Linked DNA regions of Homo sapiens: region 2 is linked to region 1. The links are contacts of gene promoters, found by promoter capture Hi-C in human tissues and cell types (Jung and others, 2019). All regions are on one chromosome and are shown on one strand. Each heading gives the region's core, a stretch centred on a gene start or on the middle of the fragment in contact. The rest is flanking DNA. Distances are from core to core; before and after follow the strand shown.

What was found. The method cuts DNA at HindIII sites, captures the fragments that hold promoters and counts their contacts. A contact is called where the count stands out against the background at its distance.
Region 2: a fragment that was not itself captured here is called in contact with the fragment with the promoter of NAB2 in region 1 in 1 of the 25 tissues and cell types used here (dorsolateral prefrontal cortex).

What each region holds. Positions count from the first base shown.
Region 1 is chr12:57,086,561-57,091,133 of GRCh38, reverse strand. It overlaps NAB2 (NGFI-A binding protein 2), which reads right to left and starts at 2,020. Exons shown (of 7, transcript NM_005967.4): 1 at 1,780-2,020; 2 at 1-9. The coding sequence starts at 1,862. It also overlaps a transcript of NEMP1 not described here. RefSeq lists silencers at 1,809-2,428, 3,429-3,488, 3,669-3,818 and an enhancer at 2,699-2,748. The HindIII fragment of the contact is 6,684 bases long and covers 651-4,573 here.
Region 2 is chr12:56,306,762-56,311,334 of GRCh38, reverse strand. CNPY2 (canopy FGF signaling regulator 2) reads left to right here. Exons shown (of 6, transcript NM_014255.7): 4 at 1-124; 5 at 281-377; 6 at 740-1,491. The coding sequence ends at 783. Among named protein-coding and RNA genes, the nearest start is that of CNPY2-AS1, 2.4 kb to the left of the region's middle. The HindIII fragment of the contact is 3,127 bases long and covers 382-3,508 here.

The DNA.
Region 1 (4,573 bases), core at 771-3,270:
GCACTGGGCCTGAGAAGGAGGGGCACAAGAGAGAGGCAGTCGGTGCAAGTCCCCCTACTGGGTACCAACCCACACTAACAATTGTTCCCTCTTTCCTGCCTGCTTTTCTTCCCCTCCCTCATTTGGATGCTATCCTGCCCAGTGCCCAGGTCTGAGTACAGACTCTCAGAATCAGGCACTGCTCAGAGGCATGGACAAGCCAGTGCCGTCCTAGACTGGCCCGAAGCCCCAAAAGTCAGTGGCCTGTGTCTGTAGGAGTCGAAGCGTCTTACAACCTTATCTTCAGCTTTTATCTTTTTGGTCTGGGGCAAGAAGAACTTGAGCGCTGAGGCTGACCAGCACCGACCTGGGATGGCTGGACCTCCCTCTCCCCCAAAACACAATCCTCACCTTCCCCTCTAAACACTCAGCAGTCTCAACACTGAAGTGAAGTCACCCATACTAAAGTGAATGTAGGAGCCCAGTCTCCCCCACAGTGGACGCTGCTGGCCAGCTTCATTCCCTGTGAAGGGGCCACAGCCCCAGGTGGCTAAAAGGGAGGGTGTGGCACCTTCCCTGGCTTTCCCACTCAGTGAGCCAGGTGGTGCCTTACTCTTCTCCGCTCAGCTTTTCCCAGGGGTTAAGCATTTATTTATTTATTTATTTATTTATTTATTTGAGACGGAGTCTCGCTCTGTCACCCAGGCTGGAGTGCAGTGGCGCTGTCACTGCAACCTCCGCCTCCCGGGTTCAAGCGATTCTCCTGCCTCAGCCTCCTGAGTAGCTGAGATTACAGGCGCCCGCCACCATGCCCGGCTAATTTTTGTATTTTTAGTAGAAACGGGGTTTCACCATGTTGGTCAGGCTGGGCTCGAATTCCTGACCTCGTGATCCACCCGCCTCAGCCTCCCAAAGTGCTGGGATTACAGGCCTGAGCCACCGGGCCCGCCCGGCCTGGTTAAGCATTCTTAACGCACGCTTCCTCTCTCCCCTCAGAACCTCTCCACCCTTCCAGGCTGCCCAGTGCTCCTCAGTGGCCCCTCTCCTAGCAGTGACACTCCCCACTTCCTCGGTCAGCCTTTTCCTTCAGCTCAGGGGCCGTGGCAGGGGGAGGGGCGCAATTGTTCTGCTCCGGGGCCGTTCCGCCCACACACACTCCCACAGTGGTAGCGTCTGTAGGCGAAAACCGCCCAGGGGCTCCCGCCTACTCTCCTCTCCCATATTTTCCACCCGCATCTTCAAGTGGAGTGGGGGAGCGGCTCAAGGCCTCTTGATGAAGGGGCTGCACACTGAAACTCCCCTCCCCGCTCTGTGAATAAAGGGACAGATATGGGAAGGAACGCCTAAGGCCTCCCTGCCTCCCTCGTCACCCCCCCTTTCCCCCGCTGATGCTCCTTTAACTCAAAGGCACCGGGGGCCCGCGCGCTCCGTGCCAACGAGGGACTGAGGCAACTGAGCGTCCCCCCACCTTCCGCACTGATGCCAGCTCGAGCTCCAGGGCATCCCCTGGTGCTTGGAGGCTCCCACATTCTTTGCAGGGGGCTCTTAGGCCAGATGGAGCCCACAGAGTAAACCAGGAATGGAGATTTGGGTACTACTCTTTCATATCCAGCTTCATCAGATGCTTGCCTGCTCCCAGGGCCCCCTAATTCGAAGACGCACCCCCTTTTCCATCAGTCTCCACCCCCCACCCCCGTCCTGCTTCCCCACGTCCTCCCCTCGACCTCCGCCCTCTGGACCCCATTCCCAAGTCCAGCTCCACCCATCTCCACTCCCCGCTGCCTCCCTTTGCCCACTAACTTGAGTCTGGGCTGCAGGGTCCGGCGGGCGCTGTCCCCTCCGCCCGGCGGCTGCTCGGCTGTGGGGGAAGGCGCTCTGTGCATGGACGGCCGGAGATCACCCGGGCTGCCCTTCTCGGTGCCCGGCGCTCGGCGCCTGCTGCGTGCTGCCCTCTTCCCCGCGCACGATGCCGTGTCCACCGCTGTCCAGGCTCTGTCCCTCCCTCCACGTCTTCTCTCTCCGAGCCTCCGCGCCTCTGTCTGTGCCTCTGCCCCCCCACCCTCCCCGGCTGCGCTTGCCGCCTCTCCGCGCCTCCGCCCCCGCAGGACGCACAGGGAGCGAGGCCCGGAGCTGCGCTGGCTGCCGGGCTGGCGGGCGGAGGGCGTGGGCAGAGCCGGGGGCGGGGGTGGGGGCGGGGGCCGGGGAGGCGGGCGCTGGGGCCTCTCGGCCGCGGAGACGCCGCGGCTTAGAGACTGGGAGAGGCGGAGACGGGGGGGGAGGGGGTGTGGAGCAGGAGGCGGGGGCGGGGATTCAGAGCCGGGGCGCCGAATTGGGGACCGAGGTGACCGAGGCCCGGCTGTGCAGGGCGGGCTTGGGGACCCAGCGGGCGGGGCGAGGTCGTTCTGTGCCGCCCACGCCGGATGCACAGCCGGCCCTCTTGGCGCCCACGTACCCACGTGAGCGCCCCGCCGGCGACATTCCTTCTCTCCCCCACCCCTCCGAGCTGAGAGAGGAGTTTCACAACCACGCACAAGTACACAAAGACACAGAAGCGCACGGACGTGCACACGCGCCTAAACAACTACGGGGACGCCCGTTGCCCATACTCAGGCCTTGTGGTGCTGGACGTGTGAATGTTAGCAGTGAGCCGGGAAAAGTTAGCGAAGGCTGGGCTGTGCGGCTTCTCCTGTGCGTGCATCTGACTCCCGTATAGTGTGCACTTAAGGCGGGCCTGAGAGCGTGGGGCTCTGCAGGGATCTCCTAGATATCCCCGCGCCCCTCCTCAGCCCCAATGGAATAATCTGAGGGGGTCGCTCTCAGAAACCCAGGCCTCCATGCTAGCCTGGAAAGTTTGGGAAACAGGAATGGGAGGGTTATGCTGCACGCCACCACTTAGGTGCGCGTGTTGATTAGACGCGTCGGCTTTTGTCAGCGCGTAGGTCAGGCAGGGATTCCTCCACTTGTCCTCTGTTTGCTGAGGATGAGGCCCTGCCTGGGAATTTTGTGTGACAAAGACGATACCCTTCCTGGGGCCGTCTATTAGGGACCTCGCCCGAGAGTCTAGTGGAAGATGAGTAAGAGGTCGGGAGCCTACGACGTGACTTCCTGCGGCGGAGCTGGAAGGAGGAGCGCCTTGAAGGAGCTTAGCCCCCGCCTCTGCAACCCACCACCGTCTCCCCCTTTGGTTTCTCCTAGCCCCATCTGGTTCGCATTGCACTCCCGCCCACGGCTGGGAGGGCTGTTGGGGGAGGCGGGGGCTCTAAGGGCCCGGCCCATAGACTCTAAGCCCCAGGGAAAGGAGGGGGGGTGGGGGCCGGGGAAAGCGAGCGGACTGGCCACAGGTGAGGTTTCCCCTAGTCCGGAATCTCAGCCCCGCCCCGCCTCTCTGTCCGCACTTCTGAGGGGCTGGGGTGGGGCATGGCGGGGCGTGGAGGCCGTGGACCGGGGCTGGTTTTACAATGTGGCCTAGCGAGGAGACCTTTCCGCCTTGTGGGGTCCGGGGAGAAGGAGCGCGTTGTTGGTGGGAGGATTTCAGTTGCTCAGGTCCTCTTCTCCAACCTATTAAGCGCCAAACACAGTGGGGGTGGTGGGAACGAGCAGAGTCCCGTCTCCCAGTCCCCCGCCCCGCAACTGGAGGGTGCGGCTAGACGGGCTCCCCTGGGGACGCTCCCGACCCCGTACGGGGTGTGGGCGACCCCTCCCCCCCCACCTCAGGTTATTTTGGATCCCGGGCTGCCAGCCGCTGGCCCCGGGTTTCCACGTGCCCCCTCCCTCCCCCAGCCCACGCTCCCCGTGACGCACATCCTCCGCCCACGCAGCCTCTGCTCGAGGCGCCCCCCTCCCTCCCACCCCGGCCCCCTTGGGGCGGCGCTGAGCCTTAGGATCTGGAGGGAGACGCCCGCCCAAGGAGGAGGCGGAGTAGGGCGTGAGCAAGTGAGCGGCAACCTACTGGGCGCGGGGCGCCCGGGTCCCGGTCCTGATCCGGGAAAGAGGGGGAGGGAGGAGCCGATTTTGAGCTCTCCGCTCCCGGGTCCTGGGAGAGGGGGTGCTCGGCCAGAGAGGGACGAGGGAAGAGAAATTCCGCAGAAGGGGCCTGCCCACTCCCCTAGGGGAGCCAGCGGGGGTCCGGGTGCGAACCCGTGTGTGAGAGTGAAACTACCGGGTGTTTGTGTCTTTGTGCCCTTGTTTCTCAAGATTGTCGTGAGATTCGGATGAGAGAATGTACGGGAAAACTCTCTAAATTGTAGAATGCTAAGCATATTTAAGACGCTACTGCCAGTTTGTGTCTCTGTACCCGAGATTATGTATTTATATGTTTCTTTATATCCACTTGTATATCTGTGTTCCTCTCTCTCTCTAGGTTTGTGTATGAGCCCCTATTTAAAAAATCATTGACTTGTCAGGGCCCGCCAGAGGCCCAGAGCGCCCCCGCAGCCCGCAGCCAGAGCTGCCGAGATGTCTGTTCTTCCCGCCCACTCCTGCCACCCCCAACTCCCCTCCTACTCCCTTCCGTTGAGAACAAGGAATTTCCAGCCTGTAGCAAAGGGAAAGAGGCAAAGACAAAGACGGAGACCATGGGAAACTATAGAAAAAC
Region 2 (4,573 bases), core at 696-3,195, 780 kb after region 1:
GATTGATCCTTCCACCCATCGCAAGAACTACGTACGTGTAGTGGGCCGGAATGGAGAATCCAGTGAACTGGACCTACAAGGCATCCGAATCGACTCAGATATTAGCGGCACCCTCAAGTTTGCGGTGAGCTATGGGAATCGGTAGCTGGTTCTTGGACATTAAGGGGTTGTTGGAGAACCAATTAGAAAGTTAGGCTGATATCCTTGTCCTCCTCTTTGGAAGTGAAGGCAAGAGGCCTCTTATTGCCCTGTGTCACCCATTTCTCCCTTGGGTTGGCAGTGTGAGAGCATTGTGGAGGAATACGAGGATGAACTCATTGAATTCTTTTCCCGAGAGGCTGACAATGTTAAAGACAAACTTTGCAGTAAGCGAACAGGTAAGCTGCCCCCACTTTATCTCCTGTTCTAGTAGCTCTGTGGAACCTGACATTCCCTAACTCACCCATACACCCCCATCCCAGAAACCTCTGGTATTAGGTCAAGAGCTGTCTTCCATTTCCCTTGGCTTAGGGACTTGGGGTGTTCCTCCACATTTTCTGTCAGCTTTCAGAATTTGTGTCCCCTTGACCCTGAGATACAGGTGAGAGGACAGTGGGGATGTTTTATCATTTATAAGCATATATTCTGCAGAATGGTGGTTGGTGTGTGTTTGTGTCAGCTTGGTCTGGGAAATTTTCTTGATACTGGCAGATATCAGTATGAGAATGGCATATTCCTTTAAATTGTTTGCCATTTGCAGATCTTTGTGACCATGCCCTGCACATATCGCATGATGAGCTATGAACCACTGGAGCAGCCCACACTGGCTTGATGGATCACCCCCAGGAGGGGAAAATGGTGGCAATGCCTTTTATATATTATGTTTTTACTGAAATTAACTGAAAAAATATGAAACCAAAAGTACAAACTGTGTTGTCTTTTCATGCCTGGAATTGCCCTTACATTAAGCTTGAAGATAAGGAGTTATATAGACAGGAAAGATAATGGAGGAGAAAGAAGAGTTTTGGGATTGATACAGGATAAAGGTAGGAGAGGCCTGAACCTTTAATTCTTCTACCTTCTGAGATTCCACTCCACTCATAAACTAGATAAGCTTTCAGTCAGTGCCCACTCAATACCACGTCTTTAGAGTCTAATTGTGGAGAATAGAGGAACCTCCATGAGGAAGCAGGGGAACATAGTGTATGGTAGTGTAGAATTCTAGAAATCCCTTGTGTTCATGGCTGTTGAAACATAAAGTAAGACAGGGCTTGGTCTTGAAGGAAATAACGGATATGCATTATTCTTCCTTCCCTGCCCATCCAGATGGAGGGACCAGCAAGAACAGAGACAGGAAGGGGAAAATGGATGTGACCAACTCAGCTGAAAAGTAAGGGCTTTATCGGATAGGGACAGACGAGGTAAGGAAGGTTGTTTAATGAGAGGCCTTGCTTGCCAGCCTAAGCTTTTAAATTTGATGCCAGTGGCAACAATAAAGTGTATCTATCACTAGCCATTGTCAATCTGGACTATAAGTCTGTCCACAATTCTGTGTGTAGAGATTCCAGACTGGGGCATAGGGATGAAAACCTAAAGGATACCTTCTTTTGGGAAATTCTTTTTTTCTTTTTTTTTCTGAGATGGAGTCCCGCTCTGTCGCCTAGGCTGGAGTACAGTGGCGCGATCTCGGCTCACTACAAGCTCTGCCTCCCAGGTTCACGCCATTATCCTGACTCAGCCTCCCGAGTAGCTGGGACTACAGGCGCCCGCCACCACACCGGCTAATTTTTTTTTTTTTTTTTTTGTGAGACAGAGTCTCGCTCTATCGCCCAGGCTGGAGTACAGTGGCGCGATCTCGGCTTACTGCAAGCTTCGCCTCCCGGGTTCACACCATTCTCCTGCCTCAGCCTCCCAAGTAGCTGGGACTATAGGCACCCGCCACCACGCCCGGCTAATTTTTTGTATTTTTAGTAGAGACGGGGTTTCACCATGTTAGCCAGGATGGTCTCGATCTCCTGACTTCGTGATCCGCCCGCCTTGGCCTCCCAAACTGCTGGGATTACAGGCGTGAGCCACCGCGCCCGGCCTGCACTGGCTAATTTTTTTGTATTTTTAGTAGAGGCAGGGTTTCACCGTGTTAGCCAGGATGGTCTCGATCTCCTGACCTCATGATCCGCCCGCCTTGGCCTCCCCAAATGCTGGGATTACTGGTGTGAGCCACCGCACCTGGCAGAAAATTCTTAAGCACTCTGAGCTTGAGGTATGGTTGTCTCAGGGTTTCAAATGGAATATCTCCGGTCCCAAGAACACCTCAAGGAGAGAAGACCTGAATAAACATTTCAAAGGTTTTAAAAATTACATCATTTTAGAATCTAAAGGAACCTTAGAGGTCGTCTGGTTCACCTCTGCCCATTTTATTGATGAAGAAGCTGAGGCCCAGAGAAGCCATAGAACTTTATGAAGTTCTGTATTTAATGGCAAAACTGGGTCTATAAGCTAACTTTCCCAAGTGCTGACCTGATCTAATATAGCTATAGAGTACCTTCTATTTTAAGTCTTTTTTCTCTAATAATACCTTGCACTAAGCCTGGCGCATAGAATGCATATATTCCACAAAGCTTTCTTGTACCAAAAATCCCTGTGAAATCTGACAAATTAACTAGAGCACAGAGCAAGCACTCTGATATTTGTTGTCAACTAATATCAGCCTGGTGTTAATTCCATCTTCTCCCATCATCCATAAGAAATGCTGTGTTCGCTCTAGTTTTCCAAACCAACTATTATAAAGCTTATTTTTTCTTCTATGATGCATATAAGTAATAATTACATTTTTTCATGTCCCTGAAAGTATACCCAAGGTGCTGTCCATTTCGTGCTTCGTGCCTAAAAATGCCTTTCTTTTCCATCAGAAAGCTTATCAGAAGTATAAATGAGAGTACTCTTCAAGCCAAATGCGGTGGCTCGTGCCCATAATCCCAACACTTTGGGAGGCCAAGGTGGAAGGATCATGATCACTCGAGTCCAGGAGTTTGAGACCAGCCTAGGCAATATAGTGAGACCCCATTGCTACAAAAAATACAAAAATTAGCCGGCATAATGGTGTGCACCTGTGGTTCCAGCGACTCTGGAGGCCAAGGTGGCAAGATCTCTCGAACCCAGGAGGCTGAGGCTGCACTGAGCTGTGATTGCACTACTGCACTCTAGCCTAGGCAACAGAGTGAGACCCTGTCTCAAATACAATAAAGAGAGTTCTCTTCTGGAAACTTAAAACTGTTTTAATTTAGAAAACAAATTATTCATAGTTTTAAATAAATAAATTTAATGTTAATCAGTAACAAGTTACTTGTGATGCACCTTTCTGGTTTGTCAAAGTACAGCTGTTAAGAACTCTCCAGCTGGAGAGACTTTGTCATTGGTACACAAAGGATATGTCCTATATAGGAAAGGGTGGATGTTACCTTCTAGGCTTGATTAAGGATACACTTTGTGGGGTTTTTTTGTTTTTTGTTTTTTTTTTCCTGAGGGAGAGTCTCGCTCTGTCGCCCAGGCTGAAGTGCAGTGGTGCAATCTCGGCTTACTGCAACCTCCACCTCCTGGTTCAAGTGATTTTCCTGACTCAGCCTCCCAAGTAGCTGGGATTACAAGCATGTGCCATCATGCCCAGCTAATTTTTGAGTTTTTTGTAGAGACAGTGTTTCACCATGTTGGCCAGGCTGGTCTCAAACTCCTGGCTTCAAGTAACCCGCCTGCCTCAGCCTCCCAAAGTGTTGGGATTACAGGCGTGAGCCACCGTGCCCAGCAGGAAGATACACTTTGTAAACCTCTTATTTTTTTTATTATTATCATTATTATTATTACTATCTTAGCGAGACAGGGGTCTTGCTCTGTTGCCCAGGCTGGAGTGAAATGGCATGATCATAACTCATTGCAGCCTCTAACTCCTGGCTTCAAGCAATCCTCCTGCCTTGGCCTCCTGAGTTTCTAGGATTACAGGCAAGCACCACCATGCCTGGCTTTGCACATGTTTTAATTCATATCACAAGGAATGCATGAATTTATCTGAACCCTCTGGAGGTTCATTATAATAAATTATAGCCCAGTATTTGGTAGAGCATATGCTCTTAACCTTGTAAATCTGATCAAGCTTCAGATGCCTTCTAACTTAGTTTATCAGTAAAATGTTAGAACTTAACAAACATTTCCGAAGACAGTGTTAAATGAGGTACAGATATAACAGGAAAGTTTATTATGTGAAAATTTAGTCCTTTAGAAATACGTTTTAGGGCTGGGCCCAGTGGATCATGCCTGTAATCCCAGCACTTGGGGATGCCGAGGTGGACAGATCAATTGAGGCCAGGAGTTCGAGACCAAGCCTGGGCAACATGCCAAAAACCCATCTCTACCAAAAATACAAAAATTAGCCAGGTGTAGTGGCATGCGCCTATAATCCCAGCTACTAGGGAGGCAGAGGTTACAGTGAAGATTGCGCCACTGCACTTCAGCCTGGGCAATAAAGTGCGACTCAAAAAAAGGTTTAGTCCAGATGCAGTGGCTCACACCTATAATCCCAACACTTTGGGAGGCTGAGGCAGGA